Regions from separate parts of the Homo sapiens genome. Here regions 1 and 3 are each linked to region 2. Evidence: promoter capture Hi-C in human tissues and cell types (Jung and others, 2019). All regions are on one chromosome and are shown on one strand. The core of a region is centred on a gene start or on the middle of the fragment in contact, and the rest is flanking DNA. Distances in the headings are between cores, read along the strand shown. Region 1 overlaps LOC101927284 (a long non-coding RNA gene). Region 2 holds the start of SOX21 (SRY-box transcription factor 21). Region 3 overlaps LOC101927284 (a long non-coding RNA gene).

What was found. The method cuts DNA at HindIII sites, captures the fragments that hold promoters and counts their contacts. A contact is called where the count stands out against the background at its distance.
Region 1: a fragment that was not itself captured here is called in contact with the fragment with the promoter of SOX21 in region 2 in 2 of the 25 tissues and cell types used here (H1 embryonic stem cells and mesenchymal stem cells).
Region 3: a fragment that was not itself captured here is called in contact with the fragment with the promoter of SOX21 in region 2 in 2 of the 25 tissues and cell types used here (heart left ventricle and mesenchymal stem cells).

The regions. Positions count from the first base shown.
Region 1 is chr13:94,831,077-94,835,279 of GRCh38, forward strand. All of the region lies in intron 2 of LOC101927284 (a long non-coding RNA gene), which reads left to right. Among named protein-coding and RNA genes, the nearest start is that of SOX21-AS1, 120 kb to the left of the region's middle. The HindIII fragment of the contact is 4,155 bases long and covers 797-4,203 here.
Region 2 is chr13:94,711,178-94,714,985 of GRCh38, forward strand. It overlaps SOX21 (SRY-box transcription factor 21), which reads right to left and starts at 1,368. Exons shown (of 1, transcript NM_007084.4): 1 at 1-1,368. The coding sequence starts at 872. The coding sequence ends at 42. SOX21-AS1 (SOX21 antisense RNA 1) reads left to right here and starts at 1,539. Exons shown (of 2, transcript NR_046514.1): 1 at 1,539-2,216; 2 at 2,461-3,808. LOC112268114 (a long non-coding RNA gene) reads right to left here and starts at 2,266. Exons shown (of 2, transcript NR_158368.1): 1 at 2,231-2,266; 2 at 1,543-2,085. RefSeq lists an enhancer at 2,092-2,593. The HindIII fragment of the contact is 11,141 bases long and covers 1-3,808 here.
Region 3 is chr13:94,813,178-94,817,369 of GRCh38, forward strand. The region is part of intron 2 of LOC101927284 (a long non-coding RNA gene); the gene reads left to right. Among named protein-coding and RNA genes, the nearest start is that of SOX21-AS1, 100 kb to the left of the region's middle. The HindIII fragment of the contact is 8,611 bases long and covers 1-4,192 here.

The sequences.
Region 1 (4,203 bases), core at 1,624-4,123, 120 kb after region 2:
GGGAGGCCGAGGCTGGAGGATCGCCTGAGCTCAGGAGTTTGAGACCAGCCTGGGCAACATGGCAAAACCCCATTGCTACAAAAAATACAAAATATTAGCCAGGCATGGTGGTGCATGTCTATAGTCCCAGCTACTTGACAGGATGAGGTGGGAGAATCACTTGAGCCCAGGAGCCAGAGGTTGCAGTGAGCCGTGACTGGGCCACTGCACTCCAGCTCGGGCAACAAAGCAAGACTCTGTCTCAAAAAAAAAAAAAAGTATTACAATTTGTTAGTCTCACTCCATCCCATTCTTATTAAAGAGATTTTAACATCTTTGAAAAAGTTGAAAATCAAATCTTTTTTTCTTGTGATTTCTTTTTAACCTGTGTCTTTGGTGAATGTAACTAAATGTATTCTCAGAGGCCTCTCTACTTTCACTGCCTTTTCTTTCCATTTGACTTATTTTCCTTTACATTTATTTTAAATCATGTGTGATTTATTCAGAAAGAAAAAGAGTCAAAAAGGAAAGAAATAATTTTTTTTCCCATAAGACAAAGGCACACAACTAACTTGAAATCTCTGAATCTTACCATGTGTAGAAAACCTAAATAAAATGGGAATTTGGCAGAGGCTCTTCATGTCTTTAGAGAACTGGCCCCAGCACATACTAATGTCATCTCAGTTTTAAAATTTTGTTTATAACCTTGCTCTTAAGAAAGAACTACTAGCCGTATGCCACATTTGCAGCCAAAATGCAGATTGAGAAAGTTTGACATTAGATTATTTTATAAAGGGTCCATTCACTTCTTTCCAAATGTCAAAGAAATTATGTCTGCCGGACTCATCTTTGCTCCTCTAGCACAGATGACAAATGCACACACAGGCAGACAGAACCCCATGCCCGACTGATTTCTAAAAGCCTACAGATGAGTGTTTCGGGATTGGAAACCTATTTGTCAAATAGCCACGCCAATTTATGCTGTCTTCCTCCCAGGCAGCAAGGAAGACATTGTGGATTAGGCTTATAACAAACACTGGAATGCTTTGCTTTACATTAGGTATCAGGACTCTGGATGTGTGTTCAAATATATTTATCCTCTGAAAAAGAGGTGGGGAAAAATTCACAATGAGTGAGGATGTCACTCACAGATCGACAGGGTATGTATTTACTGTTCAGCAAAGGCAGCAAAAAGAATCACATAGATTCAGAGCACAGGCCTGGATTACAGACTTCCTGTATGTGAGAACATGGAATGGATTTCAAAAAAGGAAAAAAGAAAAGAAATCACAACGAAACAAAGCGAAGCACACAACTCGGAAGTTCCAGAAAACTCAAAAGCCTGAGTGAAAGCACGGTCTGGAACCCTATCTACTTACTCTATGTATGGACTTTAGCCAAAGACCAAATAGTTTTTGATTTACTATTGTCACTCAGCTATCTATTCAAAGCTCTACTGAGAATAGAATGCAAATATCATTTGGTGAGTCTGAACTAGGAGACAGCATAATAGTACGTGTATTTTCCTGCTACTACAAGTTTGTCACCATAGAAAGTCACTACAGAAGATTCCCCAGGGAAATGGGCAACATCCACAACTGCAATCAAACAATACCAAGTGGGACTCTTTGAAAGAAGTACTGAAAATGAAACCAAAGCACGTTCATCCTAATAGCTAAAATTTACTGAATGTTCACTATGCTGAACGCTGTACTTGCCCTCTTATCTTGCAACAACTCTAGGTCGTACATATTAGAAATTAAGGTATAGGGAGGTAAAATAATTTGTCCAAGCCAAGAAAAGAATATGGGTTGAATTGTGTTTCCCCTCATCCCGAAATTTGTATGTTGAAGTTCTAACCCCCAGGACCTCAGAATCTGACTTCATCTGGAAATCAGGTTGTTGCAGATTTAATTAGGTATACCATGAGTTCAGACTGGCCCCTTTATGTAAAGGGAGAACTTGGACATAGACACACACACACACACACACACACACACACACACACACAGAGAGAGAGAGAAAGAAAGAAGACCATGAGAAGATGAAGATGGAGATCAGATGATTCTTCTACAAGCCATGGGACAACAAAAATTGCCAGATAACCCACCAAAAGCAAGGGGAGAGGCATGGAACAGATTCTCCCTTGCAGCCCTTAGAAGAAACCAACCCGGTCCACACTTCGATATTAGATTTCTGGCCTCCAGAATGGTGAGACAATACATTTCGGTTGTTTAAGGCACTCAGCTGTGTGGCCACTTGGTTGTGCAGGTACCCTGACTTCCCGGAGGGGGTTGTTCACCTGGCACCTTCCCTCACACCCACAGAGGGAGAACAGTGACCCTCAGATGGACATTCACTTATGCATGGGCTTAGATTCCAGACATGGCCCTGCTCAAAGCCCAGATGGGAGCATTTCATATAATGAGGCCTTTTCTGTCTGGCTACTAGTGGGCTCTCTTGATATTTAAGAGTTGCTTTTTGATTCAATTATCCCACAGAGTCAGGGAAAATTGGTAATACACAGATTGCCAATATGCAAGAGGAAACATAAGTCAGGTCTGGAAAAAGAGAATCTCCTTTCAAGCCTTGGATCCTGCATGTGACCTAAAGTGACACCATCTTCTCTCAGAATCTATTTCATTTACTGACTTACATGGGACGAAGGGGGCTCCTTTGGGGAAGGGGACACGAGTTCTGCCCAGAGTTATTGGTCAGACATAGTGACATGATCGGATTGGAGGAGGGAGAGGTGACAGAAACAAGTTTCTATTCAAAGGGAAGGAGAAGGGCAGAGTCAGCCAGACCGAGCAGTGGATCTTTGACAGGGGCCGTAGTTTCCTGGGCATTGTTGCTGCCTCGAACAAACTGGGGTTCATGTGAAGAGGAAGAATTGCTTCACGAATCTTTTAGGATGTTGGGCCCAAGCTTTACACAATAAAATTCTCACCCTGCCATCCCATCCTCCCTCTTCAATCAGCAGAGATGAGCTGAATGAGCACGGTCTGCCTTCTCCCTTCCTAAGAGCCTGCCCAGCAGCACCAGCCTCGCCAGGGTCAGAGCATCATCAGTCACTTGGTGAATCTCAAACGGAATCTGCACCAAGATGGCCACTCGCACTCAAGTAGAAGTGCCATGGTTAGCTCATGTTAGAGAACAGAGCTGTTCCTGATTTCATTCCTTTGTATGCTGGGGCAAAAGCAACCTTGCTGTGAGACCTTTCCCAACGGAGAATAACAGAGAAAGAAGGAATGTTTGCCTTCCAACCCCACAAGGTCCGCCTGGCTGGCAGGTGAGGAGGCAGGAAAATGCCGGCTCTGACTGGCACCAGGAAGGCAGTGGCTAAGTCAGGAGGTGCCGAATTCCAACTCTAGTAGCCCAGGGATGTTGTCATTTGGTCAGAGCCCCAGTATGACAAGAGAAAGGAAGATACTGATTCAAGAAAACATGTAAAATACCTCTCGCGAGTTAGCAGAAATATTTGGAGAGAGGTGATCCTCAAGGAAGTGGACTTCCTGCATGTTCAGGTCAGGGGTGAGAGCCATGGGAACTTGGATGTTCCTGCTGAGATGACCGTGTTGTGCGCACAGGCCAGTGGGGCATGGGGCATTTTGGTGGTTGCTTACTGTCACTTTCTAATGGGTGTAATTACAGAACAACTTGTTCCTTAAAAGCTAATTCCCAAGACCTCAGTGAGAAGAGTGAAATTCTGATTCCTTCTCCTCATAAAGTCTCTGTATCTCAAAAAGTGAGTTCTGTGAAACCTCGTCTCTACTAAAAATACAAAAAGTACCTGGGCATGGTGGCATGTGCCTGTAATCCCAGCTACTCAGGAGGCTGAGGCAGGAGAATTGCTTGAACCGTGACTCAGGAGGTAGAGGTTGCAGTGAGCCAAGATCGCGCCACTGCACGCCAGCCTGGGCTGCAGAGCGAGACTCCATCTCAAAAAAAAAAAAAAAAAAAAAGTATTGCCTACTAATCCAAGATGGCGGACTAAACACAGACGTTTACTCTCCTGTCCACCAAAATGCCATTCGGATGACAACAAAGAAGAACAAAATTGAGTAAGTGAGCTTGAGAGGAGGGGGAAAAGGAGCATCAATGGAGCAGAAAGGCCGATGGATTTCCGGCAATTGGGAAGGAGAAGGAATGATGTTGAGGGATGATGCCTGGAGCAGGATGTGCTGGTTCCTGAAGGAGGAGTGGGGATGGGAACATTCTTTT
Region 2 (3,808 bases), core at 118-2,617:
ACACGTGTGCACACCGGTCCTCGCGAGGCGGCCCCGCGGGGTCATAGCGCGGCAGCGTAGGCCGCGGGGTAGGGGTCCAGCTGGGGCTTGCCCATGCCCGGCAGCAGGATGTAGGCGAGCGGCGGCTGCAGCCCGGGGCTGGGCCACGCGCTGCAGTTGCACGGGATCATGTAGCCCGGGTTGCCCGGGCTGGGGTGCGAGTGCGTGTGCCCCCCGGCGGCGGCGGCCGCCGCTGCAGCCGCCGCCGCCGCGCCGTGGAAGGCGCCCGCGCCCGCGGTCGGGTAGCCCAGCGACGACGCGTACGGGAGGCCGGACGAGGACGACGAGATCTCTGCCATTTTGGAGCCCAGGTCGAGCAGCGAGTAGGGGCTGCCCGCGGCGGCGGCGGCGGCGGCAGCGGCGGCGGCAGCGGCCGACTGCGGGAAGAAGACGCGTGCGGCGGCAGCGGCGGCGGCCGCGGCCGCCTTCTCGGGATTGGCGAGCAGCGACTCAGGCACCAGGCCGCCGCCCGCCCCCGCGTGCAGCCCGGCGCCCGCCTTGAGCGCAGGGTGCTCGGCGTCCGCCACGCCGCCCAGGCCGTAGGGCACCGGGAAGGCGAACTTGTCCTTCTTGAGCAGCGTCTTGGGCTTGCGCCGCGGCCGGTACTTGTAGTCGGGGTGCTCCTTCATGTGCATGGCGCGTAGACGCTTGGCCTCGTCGATGAACGGCCGCTTCTCCGACTCTGTGAGCAGTTTCCACTCGGCGCCCAAGCGCTTGCTGATCTCCGAGTTGTGCATCTTGGGGTTCTCCTGGGCCATCTTGCGCCGCTGAGCCCGCGACCACACCATGAAGGCGTTCATGGGCCGCTTGACGTGGTCCACCGGCTTGGACATGCTCTCGCCCTGCCGCGGCTGCAGCCCGCCGCCTCCCGGGCCCTCGCCCTCGGCCCGGAGGAAATCAATGTTGGCTGCCCGCGGAGACCCGCTCGGCCGGCCGGGGCTCGTCGCGCCCCGGCGTCGCTCCCGCCCCGGAGGAGGGGGCTGGGGGACCAGCCCAGGGCCACGCCGCGCCCCGGGCCGCCTTAGTGTCTCCGGCCGAGCGCTCGAGCAGGTTGTCTCTGGGACACTCTAACTTCTCGGCGGTGCCCCCTCCCCGCGGCGGCAGTTTGCCCTTTACGTTCTTTGGGTCCTTCGTCTGCAGTGGCGTTTGCTGGTGAGCTCCCCGCAGGTAGCGGCGGCCGGGCAGAGCGCTCCTCCTCCTCGGTCGTTCTCTCTTAAATGCAAAGCGTCCCCAAAAGTTGCGTCGCGGAGACTCCTCGAAGTTGAGCCGAGGAGCCCGCCGCCGCGTGCTGCCAAGTGCCAAAGGGGGCTCTCAGCGGCTGGAGTGTTTGGGTTCTCCTCGGTGACTTTCTCATTTGACAGAAGCAGATGGGGGTGGGGAAGGCGGGGAGGTGGCCCTGGAGGAGGAAGAGGAGGGGGAGGCGGAGGAGTGTCCAGGCGTGCCACGAGAACGCAGAGCGCAGCAATGGATATAAATACAAATACAGCAGCACCAGCCTGTCTTCTTGGCTCCGGGCAGGGTGCGCCGATGGGAAACCCCCAATCGGCTGGGTGATTTTTTTTTTTTGGAGGGGGGAGCTGTCCCCCGCAGCACCTGCCTCTCGAGTCTTCCTCTCCCGCTGCTGGACTGACGGGTGGGGCGAGGAAGGAGGGTGGATGAGGCTTGAGCAAGCGTTGGTCGCCCGGCCTCAGAGGAAGTTCTCCCGGCTCGCCGAGGAGCCGCGTCCGGCCGTCCCCTGGGCCATGCCGGCTCTGTTCGCTCCGAGCCCCTTCAGGCGCGCCTGCCGACTTAGGGCTCCCGGAGCTCGCCGGCCGCGGAGGGCAGCGCAGCCTCCACGCGGCGCCGCAGGCCTGGCACCGGCCGCGTCCCCGCCTCGCTCTTCTCGGCAGCCGCCTGGCACTTGCAACTAACTTCGCCCAAGTTTCCTGCGCCGCGGCGCCCCTCTCGGCGCGCTCCTGGGAGCGTGCGCCCGCGAGTCCGCCGCGCCCGGGGCCCCTCTGTCCTCGCTGCTGTGGCCAGAGCCGAGCCGGCGCAGGGGCGGAGGTGCTGCAGGAGAGTTAAGGAAAACGGGCCATCACCTCAGTTCGCAGGTCCGCGCTGTGGCACCTCCCGCTCTCCCCACTCCCGCGGCGCAGGGGGCCCCTTCCCAGCCCAGGCCGCCCTCTGCACCGGCTCAGGTGAGTGTGGCTACCTGCATGTGTGCGCGCCCGGAGCCGGCACTGGGTGTGCATGTCCAGCCGCGGCTGTGTGTGTATATCTGGGGGCCTGCGGAGGAGGTGGAGCCCAGGACTCGGGGAGGGAGGAGGGATCAGCGGAGCCGCCTCCCGCTCCCACACCCCCAGGACCTCGAATTAACAGATCCCCTCCGCCCCCCGCCCCCTCCCAATCCTCCTCCTCCCACTCCTTTTCACTTGAGAGCAGGTTTAGGCGAGTGGAGAGTCCGGAGCGCGCCGGGGAGTCTGCGCCCTGTTTGGCGTTGGCAAACCCTGGTGTCATCCCGGCTACCCAGGCCGGCCTGGCGTGCAGCTGCCCTGGTTGTGGCCCTGGAATCCTCGCCGGGAGGAAGAAGGCGGCGGGCACGAGTAGGAGAGCCTCTCCAGCTACGGAGGAAGAGGGTTAAACCTGGAGAAGGGGAGACTCACCCTTGAAAATGTTTGAGACTGTTCCTAGCAAGAAAGTGCTCATTTTCCTTGGAGGTCCAGGTGTTGCTTGCAACAGAAACAGAGGCTTCTCGCATTTTCTTGCACTGGCGATGCACCTAGTCAGAGGTAGTGGAGTGAAAAATAACTCTGGAGGGAATAAGGACATTCTTGGCAACCTTTCCAAAAAAGAGCTAGCCCAGACTGAGAGTATGCATCCTTGACTGACTATTCAGCTCTTTAAAAATTCTGTGTTGTTTGTCTTTTGTTGTAATCTTGGTCGCCAGAACCATCTATATACTGATCTCTTTAAGGTACAGTTAACTTACAGTGTCTCACTTACATGCGCTGCTGAGGTGAAGGTGTTTAAAATCAATAAGTGTAAGTAGTTTCCCTGGAAGAGAGAAGTAAAACGTACCAATCACTCAGTGCTGGAATATTTTTATGCTAAGCATAATTTCCTTCTTTAGTAGTTAGAGCAGTTTTTTAAAAAAAATAGTTAACACGATGCAGAAGTCAAACAGCATGATTCTGTTTCCGTATTTTCCTCACTTTTTGGTATGCTGCGGCACATTTAGAACATGATCTGTCTGGAGGTTTTATTCACATGGTGGCCTGCCCTTCAGGGAGAACTTGCTTGCCTTCTTTCTTTGGCAGTTTGGATTTGACCTAGCCCTGTGGTATGTGCAAGTAGGAACATCTACAAACGGTTAACTCTTTAAGTCTTCCTACGATTTATGTTCAGTTCATTCACACACACACACACACACACACACACACACACACAAAAGCTTTGATTGTAATTATGAACGTGAATTAAAACTGTTTCAGGCCATCAGATTTATGTAAAAGTTAGGCTTGTTTTGTTCATTTTAATAAAAGAATAGTGACTTAAAAATTACAGTCGTGATAACAAAACTGTGAACAGCAGTGGCATCTATGTGGGTTTTTGTTTTTCTGAAGATGTCGTATTGACAAGCTTATTTTGTATCGGTTATGCCCTTGCATTGTTAAAATAATTGGACTGATTTCTCCAGAACCATATTCCTTTACAGGCTCTGTAAAGACACTCTTGTCATTCACAGACTCTGGCTGGAGCAATGGGAAAACACTAGCATGTGTAATTACAT
Region 3 (4,192 bases), core at 300-2,799, 100 kb after region 2:
CCAGCATGGATCTTTTTTCATCCAAATTGTTAGAGTTCACAAAAACTTATTAATCTAGAAGCATCTACCAATGTAGCAAGAAAGACTGTATAAAGAATCAGGTGGTGGAAGGCCAGACTCCAGCTGTGTACTGAAATCTCACATCTGCCAAACCTGTGGATGATATAAAGTTAACCATCTTTTCCCCACTGCTTGGAAATCCCACCTTTGTCATATGCGATTTCTCCACATGTTTTTGTCTCTTTCTGGACTTTGTTCTTGTCCATTGATTTGTCTAATCCCACTAATTATAGTAGCTTGATAATATATTTTAATGTCTTGGAGGGCTGGTCTCTCCTCCTTACTCTTTTTTTTAGGAGTTTTGAGTATTTTTAAAACATTTGCTTTTCTATATGATACTTGGAAATAGCTTGCTGAGTTAAAAATATCCCACTGGCCTTTTAAGTGGGATTGTTATAAGTTTATAGATTATTTAAGGGAAGATGGAGATCTGTGTAATGCTGAATCTGTCTGTACAAGAAGAGGCTGTGTCTTTCCATTTATTCAAAACTTCTTTATGATTGTCAGGAGAAATATAAAATATATATATTTCACACACATAAACATCGTGAACTTATTACGTTGTATTATAATTTCTATTTATTTGTCATTTTCCTTGGATAAAGTATCAGCTCTTTCAGGGCAGCTCTTTATTAATTACTAAACCCCAACACCATGGGCCGTGCTAATGTGCAGTCAATTTCAATAAATAAACTGATGAAATAACTAAAATTAAACATGAATTTTCTGTGACCATCCCATCTAAATAAATATGAATGTGAGGCAGTAGAGGCACTTGTGTATAATTACCGTGCACCAGCTTTCAAAACCGAATCTTGCTCTAGCTCCTCCTAACTCTCACCCCAGAGTTCCCCACCAGATGTTAAAGGCCAAACCAACCATTAAAAAGACAAGTGACACTCATGTCTCTATGTAAATAAAAATTGTGAAAGTACTTTAAGGGAGTTCCCCTTGAATATTTCTTTCCTTTAAGGGACAAAAGCAAATTGACTGCCAGCGAAGAGCCCTTTAGTCCAGAAATTCTTCATAGCAAAGGCACAGAAACTTGAAACAATGTCCTCAGTGCTCTCCCTTTTGTCTGTGGCAATAGAATGGGGATTCTGTACTCCAACAGCTCCTTAGGGGAAAACATCAACACTCCAAAATTTAAACTCCACATAGCTGCATTCAGGGAATGAAAGCCAGACCTGTCGCTGTTCCCAGGACAGAGTGGCTATTGTGGAAAATTGCCCTTTTTAAGAACTTTTGGTGTCCAGGCTCCTGTATGGAGCAGCCTAGATAATATCCCTGCCTTCCCGGCTATGGTCCATCTCCAGATGCCAGCATGGGGGATAAATGTCCACGAGGGTTCTGTCTACCAATGCAAACCTCTTGAGTTTCTGTCTTCAGAAGTGAGGGCCATAGAATAAGAATGAAAATGGACCTTGGTCCTGCTGAGGGGGAAAAACAAGTTGGAATGGAAGGCCGCTACTTCCAACTTAAGCAAAGTTGGAATAGATACTTCCAAAGGTATTGGGCTGACCCCAGATACGTAATGGAATTTTGTAGCATACTTTATTTTGCATTTTTGCAACCAGGTGTTGATAATTACATGTGTAATTATTCAACCTCTTTACTTTATGTATCAAGAAGCTGAGACACAGGGAATGTAAATAACTCATTAGTAATTACATAGCTAGTTAGAGACATAGCTGGGTTGAGAGCTTAGGTGTTCAAGCAAAGAGTCTAATTTTCTTGATTCCGTTACATTGCCATTATTTAATCCCAACACACCTTATATTTGAAAGCATGTTTTAATTAAAATTATTTGCCATTAAATTATATGAAACTAAATCCAGGCTTCCAAGTTTTACTATAAATCTACTTTTAAAAAAAATTAGTACATCTCTAAAATGTTTTAAAAATGTATTTTAGCATACTCTTCCAACTTAAAGTACTTTGTATCAGAGTCAAGGGAGGTAGCAACTGTTGGTCCACACTATTAATACTTTAGGGAAATCTCACTTTATGCCTAGCACATGCATATCATTAAAAAATTGCAACTTAAAACTTTTGAAAAACACCTGTGAAAAAGTATCTTTTTGACACTCTAGAGGTGACAGTGCAACTTTCCGCTACATTCATGAAATTTTTGACAAACTTAAGACAGTCTGGTAATTCACTTTGGAAGTTTTTGGTGCCTGGTGCATGGAAGATTTTATTAGAGAATCTAAAATCATGTCAGATGTTACATAATAAACTTGTTGGCAAAAACTTAGCTTTGGTTTGCATTCTCCTATTATAAACACTGGAGTTAAGAATGAATACAAATATAAACGGCCAGTTGCATATCACGTTTCATGTAGGCATTCGAGATTTGTTCATTCATGATTTAATTAGCCATTTATTGATTTCAGTGTGTCAGATTCTGTGCTAGGCATAAGGAATTAGTGGTAAATAAAATAAAAATGATCCTTACCTTCACGAAGTTTACAGTACAATAAACTTCGGAAATTGTTACCAAAAAAATGGATTGTAATGGGGCTTGGGAATGTATAACAAAGAATGAGGAGAATATTTCTTAAGACCTGAGGCTGGGAGCGGTGGCTCACGCCTGTAATCCCAGCACTTTGGGAGTCCGAGGCGGGCGGGTCACGAGCTCAGGAGATCAAGACCATCCTGGCTAACATGGTGAAACCCTGTCTCTACTAAAAATACAAAAAATTAGCCGGGCGTGGTGTCTGGCGCCTGTAGTCCCAGCTACTCAGGAGGCTAAGGCAGGAGAATGGCATGAACACGGGAGGCGGAGCTTGTAGTGAGCCGAGATCGCGCGACTGCACTCCAGCCTGGGGACAGACAGAGATTCCGTCTCAAAAAAAAAAAAAAAAAAAAAAAAAAAAAAAAAGACTTGAAGGATGAATAAGAATTAGGAGGAGGGGCCAGGTGCGGTGGCCACGCCTGTAATCCCAGTACTTTGGGAGGCCGAGGCAGGAGGATTGCTTGAGGCCAGGAGTGTTAGACAAGCCTGGCCAACATAATGAAACCCTGTGTCTACTAAAAATACAAAAAATGAGCCGGGCGTGGTGGTAGGCTCCTGTAATCCCAGCTACTGGAGAGGCTGAGGCAGAAGAATCACTTGAACCTGCGAGGCGGAGGTTGCGGTGAGCCGAGATTGCTCCACCACTCTCCAGCCTAGAAAACAGAGTGAGACTCTGCCTAAATAAATAAATAAATAAATAAATAAATAAATAAATAAAAGAATTAGGGGAAGAGAGGGAACACATAGAAGAAAGAGCGAAGGAGTGGTAAGAGTAAAAAATGTGTTTTCCTCCCTCTCTATTTAAAGGCCCCTCTGTTACCTTCTACTGTGGACAGTGGCCAAAATGTCCTTCACTGCTTGAAGCCAACACAGAACTGTCCTTCCATGCCACCTTTCTGCTTCCTGCAGGAACTATGCTCACGCTTACCCTTTCTCCATGTTGACAGCTCAGTTAATTTCATCACACTTGGCCTCTTAAAAAGTCTCTACATTCTTCTCCTCCTCTTCCTCTTCTTCCTCCTCCTACTTTTCCTTCTCCCTGTTCTTATAATATGAATAACCAATTAATATATTAAAATGATAAAAAATCCAAATTGCATAAAATAAACAGAGTCTTTTTTCCATCCATCACCTCTCACACTTTCTTTGAAGTAATCCTTTCTCCTTCAGCTTTTAAAAACTATTTGAAATACAAAAAATAAAAATATATAATTAAAATATGTATAATACACATAAAAGAATATATATAATGCAAATCCACGCTGTGAAGCACATCAATAAAACAAAACAAACACCTATGAAACCCACCACCCAAACCAAGAAATGGAATTCTCATAACATCTCTCTCCCCCACCCAGAGGCAATCATAATTCTGAGTTTTGTGTCCATTATTCGCTTGTTTTTCTATGTTGATATAAGTCCATACGGAATACATACAGAGTACTTTTTTTTAGTTTTTGCTGTTTTTGAGATTTATAAATGATATCACATTCCATGCTATCTTCTGCTGCTTGCTTTTGCCATTCAACATTATATTTCTAAAATTTATGCATGTTGACATGTGTACTTTTAGCTTATTCAATTTCACTGCTGTATAGTATATTCTCACCATAA